6 separate regions of the Homo sapiens genome follow, and all the other regions are linked to region 5. The links are contacts of gene promoters, found by promoter capture Hi-C in blood cells and fetal thymus (Javierre and others, 2016). All regions are on one chromosome and are shown on one strand. Each heading gives the region's core, a stretch centred on a gene start or on the middle of the fragment in contact. The rest is flanking DNA. Distances are from core to core; before and after follow the strand shown. Region 1 overlaps BIRC6 (baculoviral IAP repeat containing 6). Region 2 overlaps LOC124905985 (a long non-coding RNA gene). Region 3 holds the start of BIRC6 (baculoviral IAP repeat containing 6). Region 4 overlaps BIRC6 (baculoviral IAP repeat containing 6). Region 5 holds the start of STRN (striatin). Region 6 holds the start of FAM98A (family with sequence similarity 98 member A).

What was found. Contacts are between HindIII fragments. The CHiCAGO score rates a contact against its expected background, and 5 or more counts as called.
Region 1: a fragment that was not itself captured here is called in contact with the fragment with the promoter of STRN in region 5 in 1 of 17 cell types (M2 macrophages); the score reaches 6.4 in M2 macrophages.
Region 2: a fragment that was not itself captured here is called in contact with the fragment with the promoter of STRN in region 5 in 2 of 17 cell types (M2 macrophages and M0 macrophages); the score reaches 6.3 in M2 macrophages.
Region 3: a contact is called between a fragment that was not itself captured here and the fragment with the promoter of STRN in region 5, in 1 of 17 cell types (M0 macrophages). The highest score is 5.6, in M0 macrophages.
Region 4: a fragment that was not itself captured here is called in contact with the fragment with the promoter of STRN in region 5 in 1 of 17 cell types (M0 macrophages); the score reaches 5.5 in M0 macrophages.
Region 6: the fragment with the promoter of FAM98A here is called in contact with the fragment with the promoter of STRN in region 5 in 1 of 17 cell types (non-activated CD4 T cells); the score reaches 7.4 in non-activated CD4 T cells.

What each region holds. Positions count from the first base shown.
Region 1 is chr2:32,540,046-32,544,197 of GRCh38, forward strand. It overlaps BIRC6 (baculoviral IAP repeat containing 6), which reads left to right. Exons shown (of 74, transcript NM_016252.4): 62 at 3,196-3,496. Among named protein-coding and RNA genes, the nearest start is that of MIR558, 10 kb to the left of the region's middle. The HindIII fragment of the contact is 1,230 bases long and covers 1,521-2,750 here.
Region 2 is chr2:32,621,126-32,625,387 of GRCh38, forward strand. LOC124905985 (a long non-coding RNA gene) reads right to left here. Exons shown (of 3, transcript XR_007086273.1): 3 at 3,638-4,045. Among named protein-coding and RNA genes, the nearest start is that of TTC27, 4.8 kb to the right of the region's middle. The HindIII fragment of the contact is 5,253 bases long and covers 1-4,125 here.
Region 3 is chr2:32,353,982-32,358,088 of GRCh38, forward strand. BIRC6 (baculoviral IAP repeat containing 6) reads left to right here and starts at 3,042. Exons shown (of 74, transcript NM_016252.4): 1 at 3,042-3,505. The coding sequence starts at 3,181. RefSeq lists enhancers at 2,713-3,225, 3,740-4,107 and silencers at 2,729-3,098, 3,259-3,488. The HindIII fragment of the contact is 1,729 bases long and covers 804-2,532 here.
Region 4 is chr2:32,563,448-32,567,571 of GRCh38, forward strand. The region is part of intron 65 of BIRC6 (baculoviral IAP repeat containing 6); the gene reads left to right. The region is part of intron 1 of BIRC6-AS2 (BIRC6 antisense RNA 2); the gene reads right to left. Among named protein-coding and RNA genes, the nearest start is that of BIRC6-AS2, 9.3 kb to the right of the region's middle. The HindIII fragment of the contact is 260 bases long and covers 1,732-1,991 here.
Region 5 is chr2:36,963,914-36,968,415 of GRCh38, forward strand. STRN (striatin) reads right to left here and starts at 2,623. Exons shown (of 18, transcript NM_003162.4): 1 at 2,317-2,623. The coding sequence starts at 2,550. RefSeq lists a silencer at 2,304-3,113. The HindIII fragment of the contact is 8,803 bases long and covers 941-4,502 here.
Region 6 is chr2:33,597,754-33,601,833 of GRCh38, forward strand. It overlaps FAM98A (family with sequence similarity 98 member A), which reads right to left and starts at 1,546. Exons shown (of 8, transcript NM_015475.5): 1 at 1,416-1,546. The coding sequence starts at 1,468. LOC105374455 (a long non-coding RNA gene) reads left to right here and starts at 1,592. Exons shown (of 3, transcript XR_939942.3): 1 at 1,592-3,085. RefSeq lists enhancers at 800-989, 1,540-1,609, 1,640-1,689, 1,830-2,059. The HindIII fragment of the contact is 3,614 bases long and covers 1-3,610 here.

The DNA of each region.
Region 1 (4,152 bases), core at 886-3,385, 4.4 Mb before region 5:
ATAAATTCCTTGAAAAACACAACCAGAATCAGTAGAAGAAGTGCATGTATACGTTTGTATGTATACACTTATGCAGAATTGTAATCAAACATACAGAATTTTTAGTCTGTTTTCATTTTTAAGTACCATGGTTATGATTTTGAAATCACATTAATCCCATGTTTCTCCAATTTAAACTGAAACTCATTTTTTGTTCTTAAATTGGAGCATTTGACTACTTTAGAAAGTATCATGTCTTCTCAGTTTGCTGTGACATATAATGAGTATCAGAATTAAAGACATCACATGGTTGGAATATCGTAATTCCTAAAAGCCTGTGATATAAATCATATCCTGTTCATCTAATTTAAAATAATTTATTTGTGTTTTAGACATTATTCAAAGTGAGCACGTCCTTATTAGAGTCTTTTCTTTGGGAAATTGAGCTGTTTTATCCTAGTATATCAGAAATAAAATTTCTTTGTTGTTAATTGAGCAAAAAGCATGTTTTCATATACTTTTCAGTTTTGACTTTCAAAATGTGAAATAATACAAGTGAATATAATACTTTAAAAAATTAAATCCACTTAATATTAATACCCTAAAACAGTTCTGTTTGAATCGTTATACTTGTGACATTTATGTAAATATCAGTTTATATTCTACTGTTTGGTGCTTTTGCTGAACCTGTATTTTGAAATTAATCTTTGTTGATGCCTAAGCCTGTGGTGGTCTCATTTGTATAGCTCTAGCATACTTGCTGTATATTTAACTATACCTTATTGTGTGTATTAGTCTTAATGTTGACTAGCATTTTTATTTCCAGTTGTTAGCTATAATGAAAAAAGTTGTGAAGAATTGTATACATATCTAATATAAGACTTAAAAATTTGTATCTGTATAATGGGTGATGGGAAATATATGATAGTGGTTTTAATTTGCTCTTCTGATTTTCGTGAAGTTGAGGGTCTTTCACTTGTTAAAGAATTTGAATGCTATAAATTGAGAGCTCTTTGATTTTGCTGTCTTTTTGCTTTCATTGTATTTGTTTTGTTTTGTGGCATCATATGAGAATAGTCCTTTAAGAAAACAATTATGATGAGGTAAAGTTCTGCTTCTGTAACAATGTTCTATTATATAGGTACTTTTATATGAAACTATCTTCTGTGCAGCATAAAATAATAAATATAGAGGATCTTTAAAAATTTGCCTATAAAGGGTTTCAAAATGGTTTAGAAGTGAAAAGTGCCTCAAATTCCTATGTTCTTACAATTAGGCTATTTCATATTGTCATTCTGGCCTAAGCTTCAGTAGTGAAAATAAGCTGGCATCAAAATTGCACCTGTTTTATTCAGTGTACAGATGCATGTAGTGTAGCCGTAGATCAACTTAAGACTGATCTAAGCTGTAGATCAGCTTAAGACTTCTACATATATATGTAAAAGAAGGAAGAAATAGTGAACTAATCACAGAGTTACCTCACCATTCATTTAAAAATCACCCCACAGAGTTACCTATCAGTCTACTAAAGTCATACAGGAAGCTTAGGAATCATCCTGATGTTTGAAGTGAATAGTGAGATAACTCTGTGATTAGCTCACTATTCATTTAATTATATGTTTGAGTGTGGAACTTCAAATTAGTATTTAGTGAAGTGCATTATTCATGGTCAAGCAAGATAAGTAGAGTATTTCTAAATGCAATGAGAAGTTTGTAGGGCAACCATGCTCAGAATTGGAGTTTTTCTTTGAATTATTAAGATTAAATTATAGACATGATGCTCCTTTATTCCTAAGTTCAGAAAACTTCTCTTGGATAACCATATACAGTTATACAAATCAGAAGTTCACACTGACTCTGTACTATAAACTGCAAATCTTATTCAGCTTTTGCCTGTCCTTCTAATGTTCTTTAGGGCCAAAGAAAAATCAATTTTCTTTTGCGTGGTTTGAGGATACTGGTAGTTCAGGATCATATATTGCATTTTGTTGTCTTGTAGTCTTGCATATGTAACAATTCTGCTATCTTTATTTATCTTTCATGGCCTTCATGGCCTTGACAGTTTTGAAGAATACATGCTAGAAATTATGTCTATATATATATATATATTTACACATGTATACATACATGTATTTTCTAGGTATGTTTGCTGATAGGACCCAGAAGCAGACTCCCCCTAGTGATATATGCATATATATCTCCCATATTGTCATTTTAAAAATTTTCTACTAAAGGAAATCAGGGCTCCTTGGAGAAATTCTAGTACTGAGGAAGAGTAGGTAGAACATGAGCCTAGAATGTTTTGCTGTGCTAGAAAGCAAGGAAGTGCTCAAAGAACGATGGGGGACAAGTTATAAGGAAGTAGGATCCTGCTTTAATGGCGTCTCAGAGACAAAATCTTATTCCCCTCAGGCATCAAAATTAATAATGATAGTAACAGTGTAATAAAGTTAGAATCTATACTGATAAAAATTAATGGATAAGAAGAGAATATTTTTCCTTATAGCTTGGTGCCAACTAATAAATGTAGAAAGAATGACAGAATTAGAAAGTTCTCCTTTTCTTAACCACTTTAGTAATAATTGTTTCAGGCACAATTATAAAAATGCTAAGACTGATCAAAAGTTTGGTGAGAAATAAGATGTTTAAATAGTCTCAAGAATCTGCATATAGATACTTAACTAATTATAAAGGTGGAATTAATAACTAATGTAGAGACACTTGGCAGACACTGCCATACTTCTGCTGTCATGTGCGTCTTGATGTTTGGAAGCTTGTTTTTATTTTTATTTATTTTTTTGAGATAGTTTTGTTGCCCAGGCTGGAGTGCGGTGGTGTGATCTTGGCTCACTGTGCCTTCCACCTCCTGGGTTCAAGTGTTTCTCCTGCCTCAGCCTCCTGAGTAGCTGGGACTACAGGTGTGCACCACCACACCTGGCTAATTTCTGTATTTTTAGTAGAGACGGTGTTTCACCGTGTTGGCCAGGCTGGTCTCGAGTTCCTGACCTCAAGTAATCCACCTGCCTCAGCCTCCCAAAGTGCTGGGATAACAGGCGTGAGCCACTGCGCCCGGCTGGAAGCTTGTTTTTTAAAGCAAGCAGCTTTATTAATCCTTATAATCCTATATTTTAAAGAGATCATTTAAAGTTAAGTCTTTACTTTGAATCTGATGTTGAAAATGTGAATGGCCAAGCCAACACTTTTCTTTTTCTTTAGGTGAGTGCTCCAGTTGTAACATCTACCACTCAGGAAAAGCCGAAGGATAGCGATCAGTTTGAATGGGTGACCATTGAACAGTCAGGGGAGTTAGTTTATGAAGCACCAGAAACTGTTGCGGCTGAACCTCCACCTATCAAGTCAGCAGTACAGACCATGTCTCCCATACCTGCCCATTCTTTGGCTGCTTTTGGATTATTTCTTCGTCTTCCGGGCTATGCGGAAGTGCTACTGAAAGAGAGAAAACATGCCCAGTGCCTTCTTCGATTGGTATTGGGAGTGACAGATGATGGAGAAGGAAGTAAGTGTTTAGTATTAAATTTATCAACACATATGTGAATAGGTTGTGTAAAGGTATCCAGATCATTGCCTATTATTCATCATTTATTTCCTTCATAGTTAAGCTGTTAGATGATTTGTAAGTGGTAGCTCACTTCCAGTATTAGTTATACATAATAAATCCTAAAGAATCTTCATTTTCATCTCTGTGTTCATTCAAAAATTATTTTCCTTGTGCTGACAAAACTGTTGGGCATCACTGGGGGGATGTAAACATGAAGCAGTTATTTAGAGCTACCCCCAAGTAGCTAATGTTCTCCAGTAATAGAAACAAGGGATGTACATAAACATGTATACTTAGCAAGTTATAAAATCCCTTCAGTACTCTTGAGTGCAGTATTATGGAGAAACACACATGTGAGATTATTTCTTTACTACTCAGCAATGTGAATGAAGTGGCATGGTAGTTTTTAGTGGGGCCTTGAAGGACAGATTAGATTTAGGTTGGGATGAGTTATCTCAGAAAATAAATGGAAAGAGCAGTGTTTTGAGGTTAAAATGTATGAGAGGGGATAAGTTAGCAGATGAAAATTTGCACAAAAGGGAGCATTGTGAGCATTTTAAAAGCTAATATTGGTAACAGATCATGGAAAAAACGTACTAAAAACTTTAGATTTT
Region 2 (4,262 bases), core at 249-2,748, 4.3 Mb before region 5:
TCTTATCTTTATTTTCTTATGATAAATCCTAGAAGTAGAATTCCTAGGTCAAAGGTTTTGATATATAATGACCGCTTTCCTGAGAGGTACTGATTCACACTTGGAAAATCTTTTAGTGTTGTCATGCGTTGGCCAGCATTGGAGATTATATAATTTTTTGATCTGATATTTTATTATCATCAAACATGTTTTAATGTGCATTGAACATTGTTTATATTACCCATTTGAATTTCTACTTTTGTCAGTTACCAGTTTATACCTTTTCCCTATTTTGTGTATTTTCTTAGAGTCTTTTAGTATGTATCAGCTACTTATAGTAGAATATTAGTTTTTGTCAAACTTCTGTGTATTTGTCCAGATGGCCTTTTAATTTTTGTTTAATTTTTCTCATAGAAGTTTTAAATTGTGGGGCCGGCCGGGTGCAATGGCTCACTCCTGTAATCCCAGCACTTTGGGAGGCTGAGGTGGGTGGATCATGAGGTCAAGAGATCGATACCATCCTGGCCAACATGGTGAAACCCCATCTCTACTAAAAACACAAAAATTAGCTGGGCGTGGTGGCAGGCGCCTGTAGTCCCAGCTACTTGGGAGGCTGAGGCAGGAGATTTGCTTGAACCCAGGAGGCAGAGGTTGCAGTGAGCCCAGATCGCACCACTGCACTCCAGCCTGGTGACAGAGCGAGACTCCGTCTCAAAAAAAAAAAATTTAAATCGTGAAGTCATCTATTGATCTGTTCCTTTCTGATTTTAATTGCATTTTATTCCTTTGAAGTTATTCCCTATGCAAAGGCAAAAAAAAGGCTATATATTTTCTAACTGAGATTGATTTTTGGTATTGTTACAGGCTTCGCTGCAACTGAATTGCAACAGGCTTGAGCTGCTTCCCATCTCGCACCCTGCAGAGGCAGGTATGGTGGTGACAAGCCAGAGTCCACATGTGGATGGAAGATACAAGCCATGTTGAAAGGAAGCTCCATCCTGCTTTCTCTTTCCTCTTCAAACTCTGCCCAGTTTCTAGCAGCCATCCAAGCCTCCTTTCTCTCAGCTTCTAGCCTCCTGATGCTTCAAGCTCTAAAGGGGCTGACGTGAACCCTGTGAGCCTATACATTTCCTGTATAGAAGAGGCATTCTCTGGCCTTCTTTCTCCCTTAGTTCCTGGATGTGATCTCGTAGTGCTCCCATGAGCTCCACCAAAAGTCTGCTTTCCATTGCTTCCTTCATGTGTGTCCCTCTTCAGGTTGCACTAGCTGTTTTCCTGTGCAGGAAGAGACTGCAGCCCACCACCATTTTAATTGTTTTCAGTTTTATTCACGTCTCACTTCTCCAGGGAGGGAATACCCAGTCCAATTATGTCAGCTGCAGGCTGCCCTGGGCCGCTGGGAGACCTACGGCCTCAGGTTAGACACTTCTGCCTGCTGGGGTCCCCAGGATACTGCCCCTCCCCACCTCCCTGTACTCCTCTGGGTCAAAAGGTAGACAGGCATTTCCCTCGTTCTTATTCCTACCACTTCTGTTCCTTGCTGTTGCTTTCCCCCAGCCTTTCTATAGGTTTTGTTCTTTGGTTTATTCCTTCCCTTTTTCACCTTGCTGTCTGCAAAGTCAGCAAATGCAGCCATAGAGTGCCTTCCAGCTCTGGAGCTTTTCTCATCTTTAGAGGAACCAGCTAGAGCTCCTCTGTGCCGCCTTTCTGGGAGCTGCTATTTTTGTTATTGCCCTTCTTGCCAGATAAGTATGAGATTTCCCAAGCCTGGCCAATTTTCAAATATTTGTCCTGTTGGGTTTTTTTTTTTCTTCTCTTTTTATAAGACTTTGTCAGAATTTTTTGATATAAATTCACAAATGAGAAAAAATATTTTTTCAAGCCCAAATCACTCATATGTTAGTTTTGGTTTAAAAAAAAAAAAAATCTTCCCCCTGGTTGTCTCCATACCCCAAAGGTAGCAGTTACTTCCTGAAGCAAGGCAAATACTTCCTTTGACCCAAAGGGCAAAGTTAATCTCCCAAAGGAGTTTAGCAAGGGAGAGCTTAGAAAGGCCTGAAGCTCACCTACCCTTAGGTGTCATTTGTAAATGCCTCTTTACCAAGGAAAGATAGTGCCTTAACTTGTTCTGAGCACTTGTACCTGCTCTGCAATGTGCTGGATTCTTGGGATAAAATGTCATGTAAGAGTCTGACCCTACCCCCAGGAAGCTGTCAGTCTAATGAAATAAATAAATAATATTCATCATTTCAATTGTATTTTGGGAGTCTTCCAGTTATCACCAATTTCAGTCTCTGAGCCGAAGCGATCACCTTAGATTGTGAGCCAAGGAAGGACAGATCCCTGAGAAGACTTCATGCAGCTCTAGGAAAAGCCTATACTCTTCAATCATCTGGCTTCTGATTTCGCAATGAGAAAACTATACCCTCGTCTGCCTCAAACGAGGAACCCCTAATACTTAGCTAAGAATTGCTAACATTTTTTGGTATCTATGTCCTAGACCCTATGTTTAGTACTTGATAACTTAATCTCTATCAGTTGGTCTCAATTTGCCAACTGCTAGGGAAAAAGCATCACACTATGGAGATACGGAAGCATACCAACTACCCCTCCCTTCAATCAGCCTGCCCTTGCTTCTAGCAGGTGACCCCCACCTCACCCCATCTTCTATTTTTCTTTTCTTTCTTTCTTTTTTTTTTTTTGACAGTCTTGCTCTGTTGCCCAGGCTGGAGTGCAGTGGTGGGATCTCGGCTCACTGCAAGCTCCACCTCCCGGGTTCACGCCATTCTTCTGCCTCAGCCTCCCAAGTAGCTGGGACTACAGGCACCCACCACCACGCCTGGCTACTTTTTTGTATTTTTAATAGAGGTGGGGTTTCACCATGTTAACCAGGATGGTCTCCATCTCCTGACCTCGTGATCCGCCCGTCCCGGCCACCTGAAGTGCTAGGATTACAGGTGTGAGCCACCGCGCCCAGTCCTCAGTATACTCAAACAATAGTTCCCCTCTTCTGTTAGTATCTGTTAGCACCTATGAGACTTAAGATGTAAAACTTTTTTTTTTCTGAGACAGAGCCTCGGCTCTGTCGCCCAGGCTGGAGTGCAGTGGCATGATTTCAGCTCACTGCAACCCCTGCCTCCCGGCTTCAAGCGATTCTCATGCCTGAGCCTCCCTCCCGAGTAGCTGGGATTATAGGTGTGCACCACCACACCCAGCTGGGTCTTGCTTTGTCGCCCATGCTGGAGTGCAGTGGTGCAATCTCGGCTCATTGCAACCTCCACCTCCCGGGTTCAAGCAATCCTCCCACCTCAGCCTCCCTAGTAGCTGGGATTACAGGCGTGTGTCATCACGTGCAGCTAATTTTTTTATTAGAGACGGCGTTTCACCATCTTGGCCAGGCTGGTCTCAAACTTCTGACCTCAGGTGATCCGCCCGCCTTGGCCTCACAAAGTGCTGGGATTACAGAAGTGAGCCACCACACCCAGCCATGTGTTTGAACTAATTCTGTCTCCTATCTTTTTAAGTGGTGAAAGGGAGGCTGGATTTGTCATTAGCTCAAGCATAAGGAAGTCAGGATTGCGAATAGCATTTCATGACCCTTCCATCTCCTTTCATATTCATTAACAGAGCTCACATTTAATAATAATTTTTAACAGTGTTTGCAAATGTTTGTGGCAGCTTTATTTGAAGTAGCCAAAAACCGGAAACAACTTCAACATCCCTCCACAGATGAATAAATAAACATTGTGATGTATTCATACAATACATACTCTTCAGTTATATTTTTTAAATGAACATTGATACGTACTATATAAGAATATCAAAATAATTATGCTAAGTGAAAGAAGCCAGAAAAAAAGTATATACTGTATGATTCCATTATATAAATCTAGAAAATGCAAACTCATCAATAGTGACAGCAGATCAGTGGTTGCTTGGAGTGTAGAGGATGGGGATGGCAAGAGGGCCGGATTATAAAGAGGAACAAGGAAACTTTGAGGAGTGATGGATGTGTTCACCGTCTTGATTGTGGTGATGGTTCATGGGTACATACCTAAATTAAAACCTAACAAATTGTACAGTTAAAATATGTGCACTTTATGCCAATTATACCTGAATAATGCTTTTTATAAAATTGTTGTATGAAGCTTAAAATCTGGTCTCCCAAGACCAATATTCTCCAGAAGGCTTCTCCTGACATAACAATTCTTCCTTCTTCTGACACCGTTGGTCCCCTGCTCTTTCCAAACCCTGTGTGCCTCGGAACAATGGCCCTGCAACCA
Region 3 (4,107 bases), core at 418-2,917, 4.6 Mb before region 5:
GGAGTTTGAGGCTGCAGTGAGCTATGATCATGCCACTGACTCTGGCCTAGGTGACACGGTAAGACGCTGTCTCTTAAAATAAGGAAAAAAAACGCCGGGCGCGGTGGCTCACGCCTGTAATCCCAGCACTTTGGGAGGCCGAGGCGGGTGGATCACGAGATCAGGAGATCGAGACCATCCTGGCTAACACAGTGAAACCCCATTTCTACTAAAAATACAAAAAATTAGCCGGGCGTAGTGGCTGGTGCCTATAATCCCAGCTACTCGGGAGGCTGAGGCAGGAGAATAGCGTGAACCCGGGAGGCGGAGCCTGCAGTGATCCGCGATCGCGCCACTGCACTCCAGCCTGGGCGACTGAGCGGGACTTCGTCTCAAAAAAAAAAGGAAAGAAAAGTATATTCTCTGAAACTGTGTTACAGTCCCAGGCTTCTTTTGAAAGGTACCTTCTGGGCTGGATGTTCTTTCTGGCTCTCTGTGAAGCCTCTGTATTCTCTCTATTGGATCTTGCTTCTCCCATGGGAAATTCTGTCACCTGAAACCCTTCTTCTCTGAAACCAGAAATCCCTACTGATTATAACCTTTGCCAACTTTGTCCACCACTGCCAGATCCTTTCCCTTCTCACTCCAGCCCCACAGTCACTTGCACTTTAGGCTCCCTACCCTCCACTGGGGGCTCTGAAGGGACTGAGAGGACCCTCCAAATCAATCACTTGAGGCTGAAAAGAGAGAAAAAAATGAGACTGTTTTGAAACAGGGCAAATAAAAAAAAAAGTAAAAAGAATTTTCCACAAATATTGGTAAAAAGCTTTAGCCCTTACTAAGTAGGTAAACTCAACTTGTCCCATTTTCTTTTTTTTTTTTTTTTCTGAGGCAGATTGTCGCTCTGTCGCCCAGGCTGGAGTGCAGTGGCACGATCTCTGCTCACTGCAACCTCCGCCTTCAGGGTTCAAGTGATTCTCCTGCCTCTGCCTCCCTAGTAGCTGGGACTACAGGTGCCCGCCACCAGGCCCGGCTCATTTTTTTCTATTTTTAGTAGAGATGGGCTTTCACTATGTTGGCCAGGCTAGTCAAAGTGCTAGGATTACAGGTATGAGTCACCGCACCCGGCCAAGTATTCCTATTTTTATGGCAATATAGTTATTTGCATAATTTCTATAAAAATGTGTTCTCCTGTAACAAGACATAATTGGAGGCACTGGTTGTATTAACCAGGTTTTGACTGGAATGTCATATTTTCAAACATGACCAGATGGCATTAAGGAGCTATGGTTGACTTTATGGAGCCAATAAAGTCTTCGTTTGAAAAACTGGCCTGATTGTTCCCAGACTTACAGGTGAGTGGCCTGAGTGGCCGGGCGCGGGGGCTCACACCTGTAATCCCAGCACTTTGGGAGGCCGAGGCAGGTGGATCACGAGATCAGGAGTTCAATACCAACCTGGCCAAGATGGTGAAACCCCATCTCTACTAAAAATACAAAAAAAAAAAAAAAAAAAAATTAGCCAGGCGTGGTGGCAGGTGCCTGTAATCCCAGCTATTCAGGAGGCTGAGGCCGAGAATTGCTTGAATCCAAGAGGCAGAAGTTGTAGTGAGCTGAGATCACGCCACTGCACTCCAGCCTGGGCGACGGAGTGAGACTCCGTCTCAATAAACAAACAAAAACAAACAAAAAAGCCAAAAAAAAAAAAAAAAAAGAACCACAGATGAGTAAGGAATGTCACTCTCTGGCAGGCCCAGGAACTTCAGTGTATTTTAGGGACCCCCAAGAAGAGAGGAATACAGTCAAATCTCTAAGTGTTTCAGATGTAGCCTGATGGCTAATAGTTTAAGATGTAGTTCAGGTAATCCATGAAGATTTCCTGAAGGAAGTTCGCATGAATGTGAGAGGGCAATTAACTTTTATAATTTTTATTGAGCACGTAGTATATACTTGTCAGATGCTCTTCTACACATTTTACAAATGATTCTTAATCCTCACAACAGATCTTTGATTAGGTTTTTAAGGAAAACTAGTTCTTTCCAAAATAACCTAATGATCACAAAACATATAGAACATACAACTCTGCATCTTGACTATGGTGCGTAGGTCTACATGTGATAAAATGACATTGAACTATACACACATCATACAACTATCAAATCCCTCCTTTTGAGATTGTACTAGAATTATGTAATATGCAACCATTGGGGGAAACTGGGTAAAGAGTAAATTGGATCTCTCTGTACTATCTTTGAGTAGTGTTTAGGTATTTTATAAAAATAATGTCCTACAGTTTGGGTTTGTCAAATGGTTTTCTCATAGTTAGATAGGGGTTATGGCTTTTGGAGAGAAAGACCACAGAGGTCTGTAGTATATTTTCAACTGTAATCTATTTCAAAATAAAAAGTTTTAAAAAAATTCTCCAAGGGGGGATGATTAGTAAATTGATTAGTCCTTTCTAGACCTCCAACACACCCCACCACACACTCACACAGACCCACACTCCTATTAATTCCGGTAACTCGGGTTGTTTGGAATGTGGATAGAGAAACTAAGCTTAACTATGCGCTTCCAGCACCTCGTATCTGGTACTTCTGTTCAACAGAAAGCCTTGGGAATGGGGAGGGCAGGCGTGGTAAAAGGTACAGGTTTGGGAAGGTCGCTCGGTTCCTTCCAATCCAAACGAGAGGCTTCTGATTGTTTATTCTCACACCAGAGCCGTGACCGAGACCCAGAGGTCCGCTTCCGGCCACGGCCGAACAGCTGCACCGTGCGTACCGGGAACGGTCAAGGCGCAGCTGGAACCGCTGCAAAAGGCCTCCGGGCGTACCGGACAGGTCGCAAGGGCGGGGGTCCCCACCTAGCGGAAATGCACGGAGGCCAACCCCTCCCCCTGCCCCCGCGAGGAGCGGGGCGGACTCGGCAGCCGCCACTCCCCAGGCTCACAGGAAGAAACTGGGACGCTGCGGACGCGGAACTGGCCAGACCCGCGGCGCGTGGCACGCGCGAGCCCTCCCGCGCATGCTCCACCCGCCGGCCTCCAGCCCGCGCCCCGGGCCCCGCCTCCCTCCCTGCTTCTCCCCCTCTCCCGTCAGCCTCCCTCCGAGTTTGGCCCCTCCGGCCGGGCGATCGACGTTCCGCGTGCGTGCGGGCGCCTGACTTCACTTCCGGCTAACGCGCTCGGCTTGCCCCCTGGCCCCGGATGGTGACTGGTGGTGGTGCTGCACCTCCCGGGACTGTCACTGAGCCGCTTCCCAGTGTGATTGTGCTGAGCGCAGGCCGGAAGATGGCGGCTGCGGCTGCGGCGGCCTCGGGCCCCGGCTGCTCCTCGGCGGCGGGGGCGGGGGCGGCCGGGGTCTCAGAGTGGCTGGTGCTGCGGGACGGCTGCATGCACTGCGACGCCGACGGGCTGCACAGCCTGTCCTACCACCCTGCGCTCAACGCCATCCTGGCCGTCACTAGCCGCGGGACCATCAAAGTCATCGACGGCACCTCGGGGGCCACACTGCAGGCCTCCGCGCTCAGTGGTGAGTCTTCCGCACGCCGGGCGGGCGCGAAGCCGGGGAAAGAAGCCGTCCAGCCCCGGGGCTCGGCCTCGCGACTCGGGGAAGCGAGATGGCGAGAGGGCAGGGCTGGGGGTTCGGGCCCAGCCGTGAAGGGAGGCCCGGAAGCTGATGGAGGGGGACCTTAGGACTTGGCTTTTTCAGCGGCTGCAGTTGGGAGGAAAGACCGGCGAGTCAGGGAGTGGTGGGAGGGGAGTTGCCTTTCGGGCCTGGAGCGTCCGGTCTGGCTTGGTCCTCCGCGAGAGGTGAGGAGACCTTGGAGCTTGGCACCGGAGGAAGCGAGGCCCGGGTAGGCCCTGGAGAGGCTGTCGGTCCTGCGTCCGGTTAGATGAGAGCGAAAGGCTGGAAGGGTTGACCCCGGGCGGAGAGGCTGGTGGCCGGAGGCGAGGGGCGGGGAGCGTCTGAGCCGGCAACCAAGCCCTCCCTTGTGGGAGAGGAGCCGGCAGTCTGCTGTTCTCAGGTCCCGCAGTGCGGGGGACAGACCGCGGGCTGTGCGCCCAGCGTGGGGGTGGGGGTGGGGTGGGGGTGGGGTGGGTCGTGGTGGGGGTGGGGAGGGAAGTAGGCGG
Region 4 (4,124 bases), core at 612-3,111, 4.4 Mb before region 5:
AGGCTACATGATTGTACATTCAAGTCTTATGTTTTCCTATATTTGAAAAATAAAAACATTTATAAAATATATGCAATGTTTACTGGGTGCTTTTCCTCGTATTAGTGTTTTAAAGCAATTGAAGAAAATAAATATTTCAGTATAAAAAGGAGCAAATGTATATGAATAAGTACTTAAGAGAAAAAAATTTTAGTGACAGCTTTAATGGTTGATAATTCGGTACCCTTCAGTTCACCCATTTAAAGTATACAATTCATTGATTTTTATTATAGTCACAAATGTGTACAACTGTTACCAAAGTGAATTTGATAATTTTTTTTTTTCACCTCATAAAGAACCCTGTACCCTTGGCCAGGCACATTTGCTCATGCCTGTAATCCCAGCACTTTGGGAGGCCCAGGTGGGCGGATCACTTGAGGTCAGGAGTTCGAGACCAGCCTGGCCAACATGGTGAACCTTGTCTCTACTAAAAATAAAAAAATGAGCCGAGTGTGGTGGTGGGCGCCTGTAATCCCAGCTACTTGGGAGGCTAAGACAGGAGAATCGCTTGAACCCGGGAGGCGGAGGTTGCAGTGAGCTGAGACTGTGCCATTGCACTCCAGCCTGGGCAACAAGAGTGAAACTCTGTCTCAAAAAACAAAAAACAAACAAACCCTGTACCCTTTAGTTATCATCTTCCATCCCCTCATCTTCTCTAGCACTAAGCGGCTGATAATCTACTTTCTATCCTTATATAGAGTTGCCTTTTCTGAATATTTTATGTAAATTGGATCATATAATATGTGGTCTTTTTAAATTGGCTTTTTCCATGCAGCAAAATGTTTTCAGGGTTTATTGATGTTGAATGTATCAGTAGTTGATAACTTCTTCGGGCTGAACAACATTCCATTTTATGGCTGTGTACTACATTTTGCTTTTCCATCAGTTGATGTCTATTTGTTTTTGCATTTTGGCAGTTGCAAAAATGTTGCAGTGAGCATTAGCATACAAATATCTATTGGTGTTTCTGCTTTGAATTCCTTTGGTAATATACCTAGGATGGAATTGTTGAGTTACATGGATTACCTGACTTTTAAAATTACAATAATCTTACTGGGTGTGAGATGGTATCTCATTGTGGTTTTAATTTGCATTTCTTTGATGACTAAGTATGTTAAGCATATTTTCATGTGTTCATTGACTATTCACCTATCCTTTCCAGAGAAATATCTTTTCAAATTCTCTGCCCCATGAGTGGGGGCTGGCTAGAAGAGGGGATTGAATGTCAACTTCTTAGCCATGTGTACCTTCTAACTTAGCAGCAGGAGGTTGCTGTGGTAGGATGGGAAATGCTGACATCCTGCCCCTCACCCCGCTAGGAAGGCAGGCTTTCAGCTCTGTACTAAGGCATAGCTTTCCAACTTGGACCTCTGGGAGAGGGAGGCCTGTGTTCTTGGCTGTAGCCAGCTAGAGTGGTTTTTCTTTCTCATTGAGCTGAGGGTGGGGAAGAAAGGAGCAGCATCTTGATTCACATACCACAGACTCTTGCTTTTCTTACTGAGTTTTAGTACATTTTCTTGAATAAACGTTTCTTCATTTGCTGCATACTGTTAGGACCACTTCCAGAGATTTTAGATAGTTGTGTTCTTTTAAAGAGTATGTACCAGTTTCACTGGGGATCTGATCTGCAGGGATCTTCCCTCTCATGCTAGCAAGAAAAATTGAGTTCTCATAAACCAAGTAAAATATTCAAGCTTTCCTACTAATTAAATGTTTTAGAACCTTACAGTGGAATATTTTGTATCCATCAAGTTCTTGAAAGTAGAAACCATCTATCTTGATATTGGGTAGAAAGAGGAAGTTAGACACTATGGAGTATCTAGTTTTTATAAAATTCAACACATACCTAAATATACAATATCATGTACTTCTCCCCTATAAGACATATTTTATTAATTAAATTACATCAGGTTTTTCTTAAGTATTCTGTTCTCCACATTTTAAAATTCAAAAGCTTTAAGGTGGTATCTAATAAATAGCTGTTTTCCTGCCTCTGTCCTACCAATAACAGCTCATTAGGGATAAACTATAGTTATCCCTATAGTACTAATCTAACTAATAGTACTAATAGTTACAGATAGTACTAACCAGTGCTACTAATTTCTTATATTTCTTTATAGGAAATCTATGTATAACAAGTAAATATAAATACATATTAGTTCATTGTCACACTGCTATAAAGAACTGCCTGAGACTGGGTGAATTATAAAGGAAAGAGGTTTAATTGACTTATAGTTCTGCAGGGCTGGGGAGGCCTCAGGAGACTTACAATCATGGCAGAAGGGGAAGCAAACATGTCCTTCTTCACATGGCAGCAGCAAGGAAAAGTGCAGAGCAACGCAGTGAGAGCCCCTTATAAAACCATCATATCTCGTGAGAACTCACTATTATGAGGACAGCATGGAGGTAACCACCCCCATGATTCAGTTACCTCCCACTGGGTTCCTCCCATGACACATGGGGGTTATGAGAACTACAATGCATGATGAGTTTTGGGTGGAGACACAGCCAAACCATATCACATAGTCTCCCTCTTTTTATGTTTTTGTTATTTGTGTTTTGTTTTATGTTTACCCAAATAATCATTTATTTTTTATTAACATTTATGGGTTATGTTTACCATATAACCCATTTTTATACCTTACTGTCCTATCCCCACCCCAAAATGACATTATAGTACTTGCGAATTTGCTCCAGTACAGCATAAAGCATATTCTAATTTTTTATGGCTACATAATGGGCATTTAGTAATTAAAACAGTTGCATATTAATAAACATAAATAGGTTCTTTTTTGAGATAAGGTCTCACTCTATGTCCCAGGCTAGAGTGCAGTGGTGTAATCATGACTAACTGCAGCTTCCCATGCCCGGCTAATTTTTTAAATTTTATACAGACAGGATCTTGCCCAGGCTTGGAGTACAGTGGTGTGATTATGGCTCACTGCAGCCTCGACCTCCTGGACTCAAGTGATCCTGCCACTTCAGCCTCATGAGTAGCTGAGACTACTGGCGGGCACTACCACACCTGGCTAATTTTTAAAATTTTGTGTAGAGATTGGGTCTTTCTGTATTGCCTAGGCTGGTCTTGAGCTCCTGGGCTCTAGCGATGCTTCTGCCCCAGCCTTCCAAATCCTGGGATTATAGGCATGAGCCACTGCATCCAGCTCACATATTTTTTTAATTGACATTTTTATTCTGTTGTATATGCCCATTGTAAATATGATATACCTGTTTATTGAGACTATCATCTCTGTCCTGCAGCATAGATATTTTCATCATAAGTTTTTTTGTGTATTTTTGTTGTATTTCCTATTGTGCAGTTTCTCTATTTTACAGTTGATTGTTATATAAAATTAACAGTATTCATTTATGTGAATTTTGCATCCACATACTTTAGTATTCTAATAGTATTTCTGTGGATTTACCGTATTTTCCAAATAGAGAATCAGTTTTCTGAGAATGAAGACATTACTCTTTTCCCACTTCTTTTTTTGTTTGTTTGTTTTGAAACAGAGTCTCTGTTACCCAGGCTAGAGTACAGTGGCATGATCTTGGCTCACTGCAACCTCTGCCTCCAGGGTTCAAGCGATTCACCTGCCTCAGCCTCCCGATTAGCTGGGATTACAGGCGCACACCACCACACCTGGCTGTTTTTGTATTTTTAGTAGAGACTGGGTTTTGCCATGTTGGCTAGGCTGGTCTTGAACTCCTGATCTCAGGTGATCCACCTGCCTCGGCCTCCCACACTGCTGGGATTACAGGCGTGAGCCACCACACCTGGTCTACCCACTTCTTATGCTTTTTTAAAAAAATGTTTTTCTTTTGGGGAATCCCCATATCCACATACCTTTCCTGGCTTGTATTTATAAAACAGAATGTCAGGAATTTGTCTCTTGAAGATGCTACTTTCCAAAAGAATTTTTTGTTGTGATGAAAACACTCTGTATCTGTGCCATTCATTAAGGACTTGTGTGGCTATGGGACACTTGAAATGTGGTTAGTGCAACTGAAGAACTGAATTCTTAGTTTTCTTACATTTTAGTTAAAATTTAGATAGCGTGTGGCCAGTAGCTGCCATACTGGAC
Region 5 (4,502 bases), core at 1,373-3,872:
GGGAGGCGGAGGTTGCAGTGAGCTAAGACTGCACCACTGCACACCGGCCTGGGCAACAGAGCGAGACCCTCTCTCCAATAAAAGGAAAAAAAAAAAGGAGTCTCTTTAATATGATAAGCACCCATGGGAAAGCTACCTGAAGTTAATAAACATTTGCCACAAACAACCCAGGAAGGGGTGTTTGGAGATGTGTGCATAAAAACTGAAGATCAACTACAGTTACCAGTAAATTGAAAAGTTTAAACGAGGAGAGGGAGTGAACGGGGCGGGGCGGGGGGAAGGATGGGTTGGAATTCCCCAACTTCTACAGGTAGAAAGGTAAGCATTGTTTTCTGGTGTGTGTGTGTGTTTTGTTTTTGTTTTTTTTTTTTTAACCAAATTAGTGTGAGTTATCTATATTCCCAAAACTGGAAAAGAAATTAAATTTTAAGTAACTAATACAAAAATCATTCCCCACAACTGCACAACATTAAAGTTAAACTTTGCCTTTAACATTTCCTTGAATCCTGAAATCCACACCTTTTATAGAATGCGCTGCTAATAAAGATCAATCTGTAAGTATTCAAATTTGTTGGAGACTATATAAACAAGGTCAAAGAAGACTTGCAAATATCAGATAGACTAGATCGACTAAATACTACAGCAATATAACAATAGGAATGAAAAAGTTGCCAAATAATATAAACATGTAACTACAGACTTACAAGGAAATCATAGAAACTACTGGTCACTCCCTAACTTCATTCAGCTGCTCATTTGTCATCTCTCAGAGGCCTACCCTGACTACCCCATCTAAAATAGCTGCCCCTATCACACGCTATTCCTGAACTCTGACTTATTTCTTCCTCACAGCAGTTGCCACTATAAGCCATTATATTCTATAGGCGCATTTGCTGGACTGTTTGCCTCTCCACTAAAACATAAACTCCATGAGGGCAGAAGCTTGGTCGGTTTTCTTTCAACACAGGGCCTAGACACACAGCTGGCACTCAATACACAGGTGCTGAATAAAATACATGATAAAACTGAAACCCAGAGAGGTTAAAGGATTTCCTCAAGGTCACAGAGCTAGCAACAAACACAGCCCTTACTATAACCTTGTCTACTACAGCCTTGTGTGTTCGCTCTTTCCACAGCCACTTCCACTACACCAGAGCCTGTTCCAGCACATGATTCTATTTAACAGATTTCTCCTCTTCTTTTTTTTCTTAAGCGCCAAATACATGTTACCAAAAAAAGTGACACACTGGGTAGCATTTTAAACTCAAGTGTTTTGCCAACTAAAACTATACTCAAATTTCATAAGTATACAGGCTTAGCCCGTAAAACAGAAAGGCACAACTATTCATAGTTCTTTAAGTTCCTTTTGAAATTGGTGTGTATGCCCTGGAAGTTTTAAGAACAACCACTGAAAACCTATTCACCAATTCTGAATGGCTTGTAAAGTATCAGCCTCACTTTCATTCTTTTCAGAGCCCACAGTTATCTCCTCCCTGGATATACTTTATCTTGCAGATTATGCAAGGCAATGTAACTAACTTCAAAGTCCCTTTAGTTCCTTTTAAAGCACAAGAAAATCTCCCAAAACACTGAACATAAAATTAACCCTTGGGAAGTTTCAGATTCTGAGAACAGGAACCACCTCTTAACCATTCTCTCTGACTGCGATCATCTAGGTCCTTCATTCAAAATGCATTAATTGGAAATACCTAAAAGAAACGTGGGAGGGGGCCGGGGGGTCGGAAGAAAGTGGAGAACAGACATTTACATATATAAAAAAAGGGATCTGATATATGAATAACACTTTTGCCCAACGTCAACTTCTCGCCTCGACTCAAGGCCTGACACAACTTCTGTTGTCTTCTTGATCACCTTCCTTGAAGAGAGGGGCCAAAGCCGGCACGTTCTGCGGAGACTGTCTCTAGACCTAGGAAGGGGCACACCAGGGCAGCGGACGATTTGCTCCGCGTCTCTCAAAACTACTGCCAGCCCAATTAGTAAACCGAGAGGGCAGCCCTGAGATGCAGGATGGCCAGAGAGTTGAAATGAGTCTGGGAGTTAAGAGTGGGATGGGGCGGACGAACAGGCGTGGGGAGGGTAAACAACGCACCAGGAGCGGGAGTGAGAACAGGGTCGAGGTGGGGTCAGCGAAAGGCAAAAGGCGAAGAGAAGAAGGGGACGGGGCTCCGGGTGGGATGGGCGGCAGCAAAGGGGGAGGGGACGCGAGAAGGCTGGGGGAGGGGGAGAAGGGTCCGGGGCGGGGCGGAAGGGAGCAAAGAGGCGGGATGAAGACGGCCAGGCCGGGAGGGTCTTTACCTGCAGCTCCGCCCGCTCCACCTCCCACTGGGCTCTCTCCACCTCGAAGCGGGCCCACTCGTGCTGCAGGAAGTGCAGGATCCCCGGGAGACTGTACTGGGCTCGGGCCGCCCCCGCCGCAGCCGCCCCGTCGCCGGCCGCGGCAGCCTCCGCCAGAGGCCCGAGCCCCTTGGCACCGCCGGCGCCCGGGTGGTTGTTGCTGAAGAAGACGCCGGGACCCGCCTGCTCGTCCATGGCGGCCGCAGATACCCGGGGAGCTGCCCCGGCGCCCAGCAGCGGAGGCAACAGCGGCGGCAAGCAGCGCCTCCTCCTCCCTCCGCCGCTCCCGCCCACACCCCAGTCAGCAGGGAGCAGCCTCCTGGGCGCGGGGGCCGGCCGAGCCCGTGACGGGCCGGGAAATGGGTCAACTGCGGCGCGCTGGCGGCCCGGGGCTTGCCGGGAAATGTAGTCGCGGGGCGGGGCGCGGGCTAGCGCGGCCCGGGCGGCCTGTAGGGCTGTGCCTCAGCTTGGGCGTGGCCTCGGGCCCGCCCCGCCCCGGCTCGCCGCGTAGGGGGCCGGCTGGGCGGGGAGAGCGGGTTTCCTCTGGGGCCGGCTGGGCGCGGGCGGGCGGGTCTCCAGTCTTCCTCGCACGCGGAAGTTCGCGGGCGGCGCACCCTGTTGCATTCAAAAACACACACACACACACACACACACACACACGGAAGTTGTCACGCCAAGATACCTGCCCGAGCTGCACATCTTTTAAGGCTTCCTGGCCGTTCTGTGAAGGAACAGGCTCAAAGCGAGCTACCCGGTGCGGCCGCGGGACCGGGGTTCTCCCGCCAGCTGCCCTGCGTGCTCTCGCTTCGGCTTCGTGTTCGGAGTTTCTCTCACCCTAGACGCTCCTCCATTCTGCCAATCTGCGGGTCGCTGTCGCTCTTGCCTTTCTCTTTTGACTCGAGGGGCTCAAACCTGTTACCTGACCAGTTTTCATTTCTAAGGAACGCCGATCACCTTTCTAAGACAACGCCGCAGCTTTCTGCTGCTGCTTCCAAATTGTGGTTTGTTGACAGCCCATCTGAAAAACTGCTCCGTTGAAGTTTCTTTCCCTTTGCAGTCCTCCTGCAGTAAATCCTGTAAAAGTTTTAGCATCCAATAATAGATGTTCTGTTATTTCGGTCTCATTTTTCCTATCTTATTCCCGCTGATTTTTACTCTACTTAATTGAACAAATATTTTGATTATCGGTTTTCTCTTGCGCTGGGAATATTAAGATAAATGACATCGTTTCTGTCATCAAAGATTGGCGTATAATCAAATATCACAAAGGCTTAATTTAAAAGCTACACCACCTTGAAAAAGCAAGTTCCCTTTCTGCTCCCTAGCGCGGTCTTAGATATCCTGGCCCCTCTCCGTTTTCACTTGTCCTGTTCCCAGTTTCTTTCACGATTCACCTGCCAACTGGCAACAGCATCCGCCTACCAAAGGTACACCAAAGTCCTTTCAAGTTACTCTCTGTAAATATTTGCCTTCTCCGAAGTCTGACAATATGTCACTATAAATTCACACTACAACAGTGGCAAAAAGGAAGGCCCCTGAAAACAATTTAACAAATGCAAATGAAATTAAGCACTTATTTTGTCACCCTAACAAGTTATCTGAAATTCTTACGTTTTGTAGGACGTACTTGTGGGTTATCAGACTTGATGGCCATGAAAAAATGTAAAGATCTAGGCTGCTGAGTGACATGTCAGGGAAAGACATCCTGTCCCTGTCCTCTCTCCCCTCCCCCCCTTTCCCATGGCTACTTGCAGAAAGGACAGGAAACACATTGTGTCTGCTCTGGTTGCAAATAAAGATGGAGAACTCTCTTCTCTCGCTTAATTAATGTTTCTGCTTTATGAATTCATTCTTTATTATCATCAAAGATTGATCCAGGCCTGGCCAAATTCCCTGTGCCATAACTTATTTTGGCTGTCAGTGTCCTTTGAGATACAGCCCAGTCTTCTCATTTACAGCTCAAGGAACTAAATTCCAAAAAAATTGAGACTTGTCAACAATGAGGCCTTGAGTGAGACGACATATCCGACAATTCCTTTAAGTCAATTCATAGCAGACACAAAATGTAATTAAATGTATAGATAATCTGGACTACCACACATATACAAAAACTATTTTAATTCGTAGTTCAACTTTATTACTCACAA
Region 6 (4,080 bases), core at 296-2,795, 3.4 Mb before region 5:
TCTAGGATTTCATTTCCTTTCCCAGTAAAGGGACCCTCCTCAGGGCTCCTCACAGCATATTTTCCCAGTATCCTGTGAACCCCTCTTCCACCTCACCTTGTACTCTAAGGGCCTAACACTGCCACAAAGAAACTGTTCCTAAAAAAGTCCTAATGAATGAATGGTTTCATGTGTGAACAAGCGATTCAGTCTGAGATGTCAACTAAAGAGACTATTTTGCTGAATGACTTTAACATATGCCCTAATGAAAGAAAGAAGCCCCCTAAAGTCTGGAATATTTATAAAAATTCAGAGCAAGTTTCCAAGAAAAGAACAATAGTATTTCACTGTGACAAAGACAGATGATAAGCAAGACTACTTCGTTCCTAAAAATTTCTACTAGGGTAGTAAATTATTCAAATAGGCAGACTTTGGGAATCCTCAAGGTGTTTTTTCCTAAAGAAAGGTTTCTCTCAAAGGTTTCCTTGTCATGGAAAAACCTAAGAGAAAATTTTGATAAAGAACTTGTTACTTAGAAATACAGCTAGCTAAATCTGTACTTTGTTTTGATACCGTACCTGTAGGTAAGTATCTAACCATACAATTTGTTTCTGGAACCACATTTAGCCCAAGAGGGTCCACGTTCTCAAGTTTAATAGAGTACACTGATCTGGGTGACCCAGTGAGATAACAAACCCTATTTCCAGCTTCTAGATACTGATGAATTATGGTTGAATAAATATCAGGAGAAGGAGAGACACAATGCAAAACAAATACGCAGGTTCTTCGTGGGTGAAGACGACCCTGGTCTAATGGGGCTCAACGAGGCAGAGTATCACAGAGTCAAAGCAAACTGCTGGTGGTTCCCAGGGACGTGGTGATAGGTTAGATGCACAAGCGAGCTGGCCAGCGGAACAGATGCAGCGCCCATACAAGTGGCTTAGCGAAGCCTGGGTGCATGCAGAGATGACTGGGCAAAGGAGAAATTTTGAGAGAAGTGGGGTGGGGTAGGAGGAGGGGCTCAAGATGGGAGTAGGAAATTTGGAGAACAAGTAGGAAAGCAGAATCAACTTTGGCAACCTTTAGAGTTGAGGGGTTAAGGGGTAGGGCAGGAGGATGAAGCGAGGAGAGAAGCTCGGGGAGTGGGGGTGGCGAAAATCAGAGCCCAGACAATGACACGCATGACTGACAAACGCTGCGGGTAGCTCGCCTGCAGGGAGCACTGGGCAGGCCTAGGGGTGTTGGGATTGGAGGACCCCGAGCTAGCAGTGCAGACAGTGGACGTGGCATTGGGGGTGCCGGGGCCAAAGGGAAGCGACAGCCAGGAGCCACGGGGTGCGGCGTGGAGAGGCAGGTGTCTCAGACTGGGGCGCAGGAGGTGTTCCCAGGGGGCCGGCAGCGTGGGGCTTGGGAGACCCGTGCCCTGACAATCTTACCCTAGATCTTCCAACGACTCCAAGATGTCAGTCTCCATGAGGTCACACTCCATGCTACTGTGGTATTCAAATTTCCGAGTCGTCAGGCTCCCCTCTTCGCCGGCAACGCGTACACTCGCGCATGCGCGACTTCCCCGGAACTTCCAAATCCACAGCTGGCGCCTCAGCTCCCGCACTGCGCATGTCCGGAGCGTGCGCAAGAAACTTGGTCCCACTGACCGCCCCACCCCTGCCCACTAAAGAATTACAGGGCCCGCAGTTTTGCACATGCGCGTTACTGGATCGTGAAGCTAGCCGCCCAGAGAAGGGTAGGAGGACCGGCTGCGTGGCAGCTGGGCGTGGGGACCACGCGAAGGGGAGCGCTCTCGGCTCTCGTTATTGGGTGTACGCATGTGCGAATGTAGGGGGCGCGGCGGGCCGGGAAGGAGCTTGGAAGAGTCTCGGGACGCGGGTGGAGTCGGCTGTTAAACCGAGTCTCTGCATCCCAGACAGGAGATCGGGTGGCTCTTCGTAGGGTGCCGGCATGTGCTAGCCTTAGCTTGCAGGTCATGTAGAAAGGGAGAATTCTTGCGCTCCCGTCTTCAGGACGCGGGTGCGGGCCAAGTGCAGACGGCAGATAGCGTGCCATTTGATTTCCTCGTGGCTGCAGTAGCTTTATTTCAGGGTTAGGGATGAGCCAACTTTCCGCAGACTATGGATGTTCAGAAAGTTGGGTCGTTTTCCCTCATGCATTCTCTACCTGATGTCTAAAGCCCTTCCCAGACACTAAGCATGTTATTTTAAGGAGAAGGGGAGCTTCACTCCATAGCAAATAGAATAGAATATTTTTAAATCCACGTAGTTTAGACAGTGAATAAACTTTTTGGCTGTACTGTCATTACTTTTGACATTATTTGCCCGGGTGAAACATTGAGTTCACGATGTGGATGTGTTGTGATATCTTGGCAGTTACTGAGGGTGTGTTTAGAAATTACTGAAAAATCAGAAATGTTTTCAAAGTGATGGCATATTTAGAAAACTATATTTAACCATAAGTTGGCGTACTGTTAAATCGTGTAGGCATTTAATTAAAGAGTTTTCATATTGATACCTGTTGATTTTATTCTATAGTTCTCAAGCATTTTTGTGTCTGATGGATAGATGTTCCTATCCTTAGTAGTACCTTTTTCTTTTCTTTCTTTTTTTTTTTTTTTTTTTATGAGACGGAGTCTTGCTCTGTCGCTCAGGCTGGAGTGCAGTGGTGCGATCTCGGCTCACTGCAAGCTCCGCCTCCCGGGTTCACGCCATTATTCTGCCTCAGCCTCCCAAGTAGCTGGGACCACAGGCGTTCACCACCACACCCAGCTAATTTTTTGTATTTTTAGTAGAGACGGGGTTTCACCATGTTAGCCAGGATGGTCTCGATCTCCTGACCTTGTGGTCCGCCCACCTTGGCCTCCCAAAGTGCTGGGATTACAGGCGTGAGCCACCGCGCCCGGCCAGTAGTACCTTTTTCAGTTTCCTTATTTTGCATCATCTGAAGTGGGGGTAGGTTTTCTGCACTTACCATGGGCACTTGATATGGCCCATTATGATGCAGTCACCATAAGGCTGTGTGAATATTAGTCACATTCTACAGATGAGGACACTAAGGCTGAGTGGCTTAATAATCTTCAGCGATCTTAATGCCTGTAAGTATGAAACTAGATTTTGAGATTGAGGTATATCTAAATCCATATTCCTTCTTTTTTGACTAGTCAAATAAGGATTTATACGCAGGATGTGAAAAGAGGAAAATTTAGCTAGTTGAATTTGTTTAAACTTGTATATATTGTACATAATTACCTTATAATAATTGAATAATTATTTTCCTCATAGGGTTGTTGAAGGTGCTAAACAAAAAGTCATGCCTAATACAAAAATCAATTTTGAAAGAAAAAGGGTTTCATTCTTGACTCACTTTTGATGTAAGCTGTGTTCAATATTGAACTAATATTGAATATAATATTGTGTTCAATATTAGTGAATGAACGAGTGATGACTTCCCTAAAAGTATTAGTATTCCCTTTCTTTCTTTAAAAAAAATCCAGCTTTTGCAGGAATAGTATTCTCTTTCTAATTCACATCGTTAGCTTAAATGAAGGATTGCTGATATGAAATTTTTATATATTATGGTTTAAAGGAATTCTACAATGGCTTTCTCTGCAATTAAAAAAAGCTTTTAAATACTACTTAAACAAAATTGTGTTCCCTACCAGGCAGGCTCAGAAAGAAAGAAAAAAAATTGTCATCATTTTAATGGGATCTACGAGGAATCTTTTGCATTTTATTTAGAAATTATTTATGTTTATAATGGAACCTGATATCTGAAGACCTCTTTGAAACTGAGTTTACTAGAATGAAAGGAACAATGATTTGGAAGTGAGGAAGCTCTGGTTTTTGCATCAGATCAGTATAAGAAAGAATTTTTCTAACACTCTAAGAGTAGTCTTAAAGTGACTTAGGTATCGTTGAGAGATGATGAGCTTCCTGTCTAGAAGGTGTTCACCTAGAGGCTGAATAATTACTTAAGGGTACTCTTGTGAGAAGGCACACCCACAAGTGCCAGCACATGCCCTTTTACTGATGACTTTGATTCTAGATTCTTTCTCAAAAAAGAATATAAAATACCAACTTAAAACCCTTC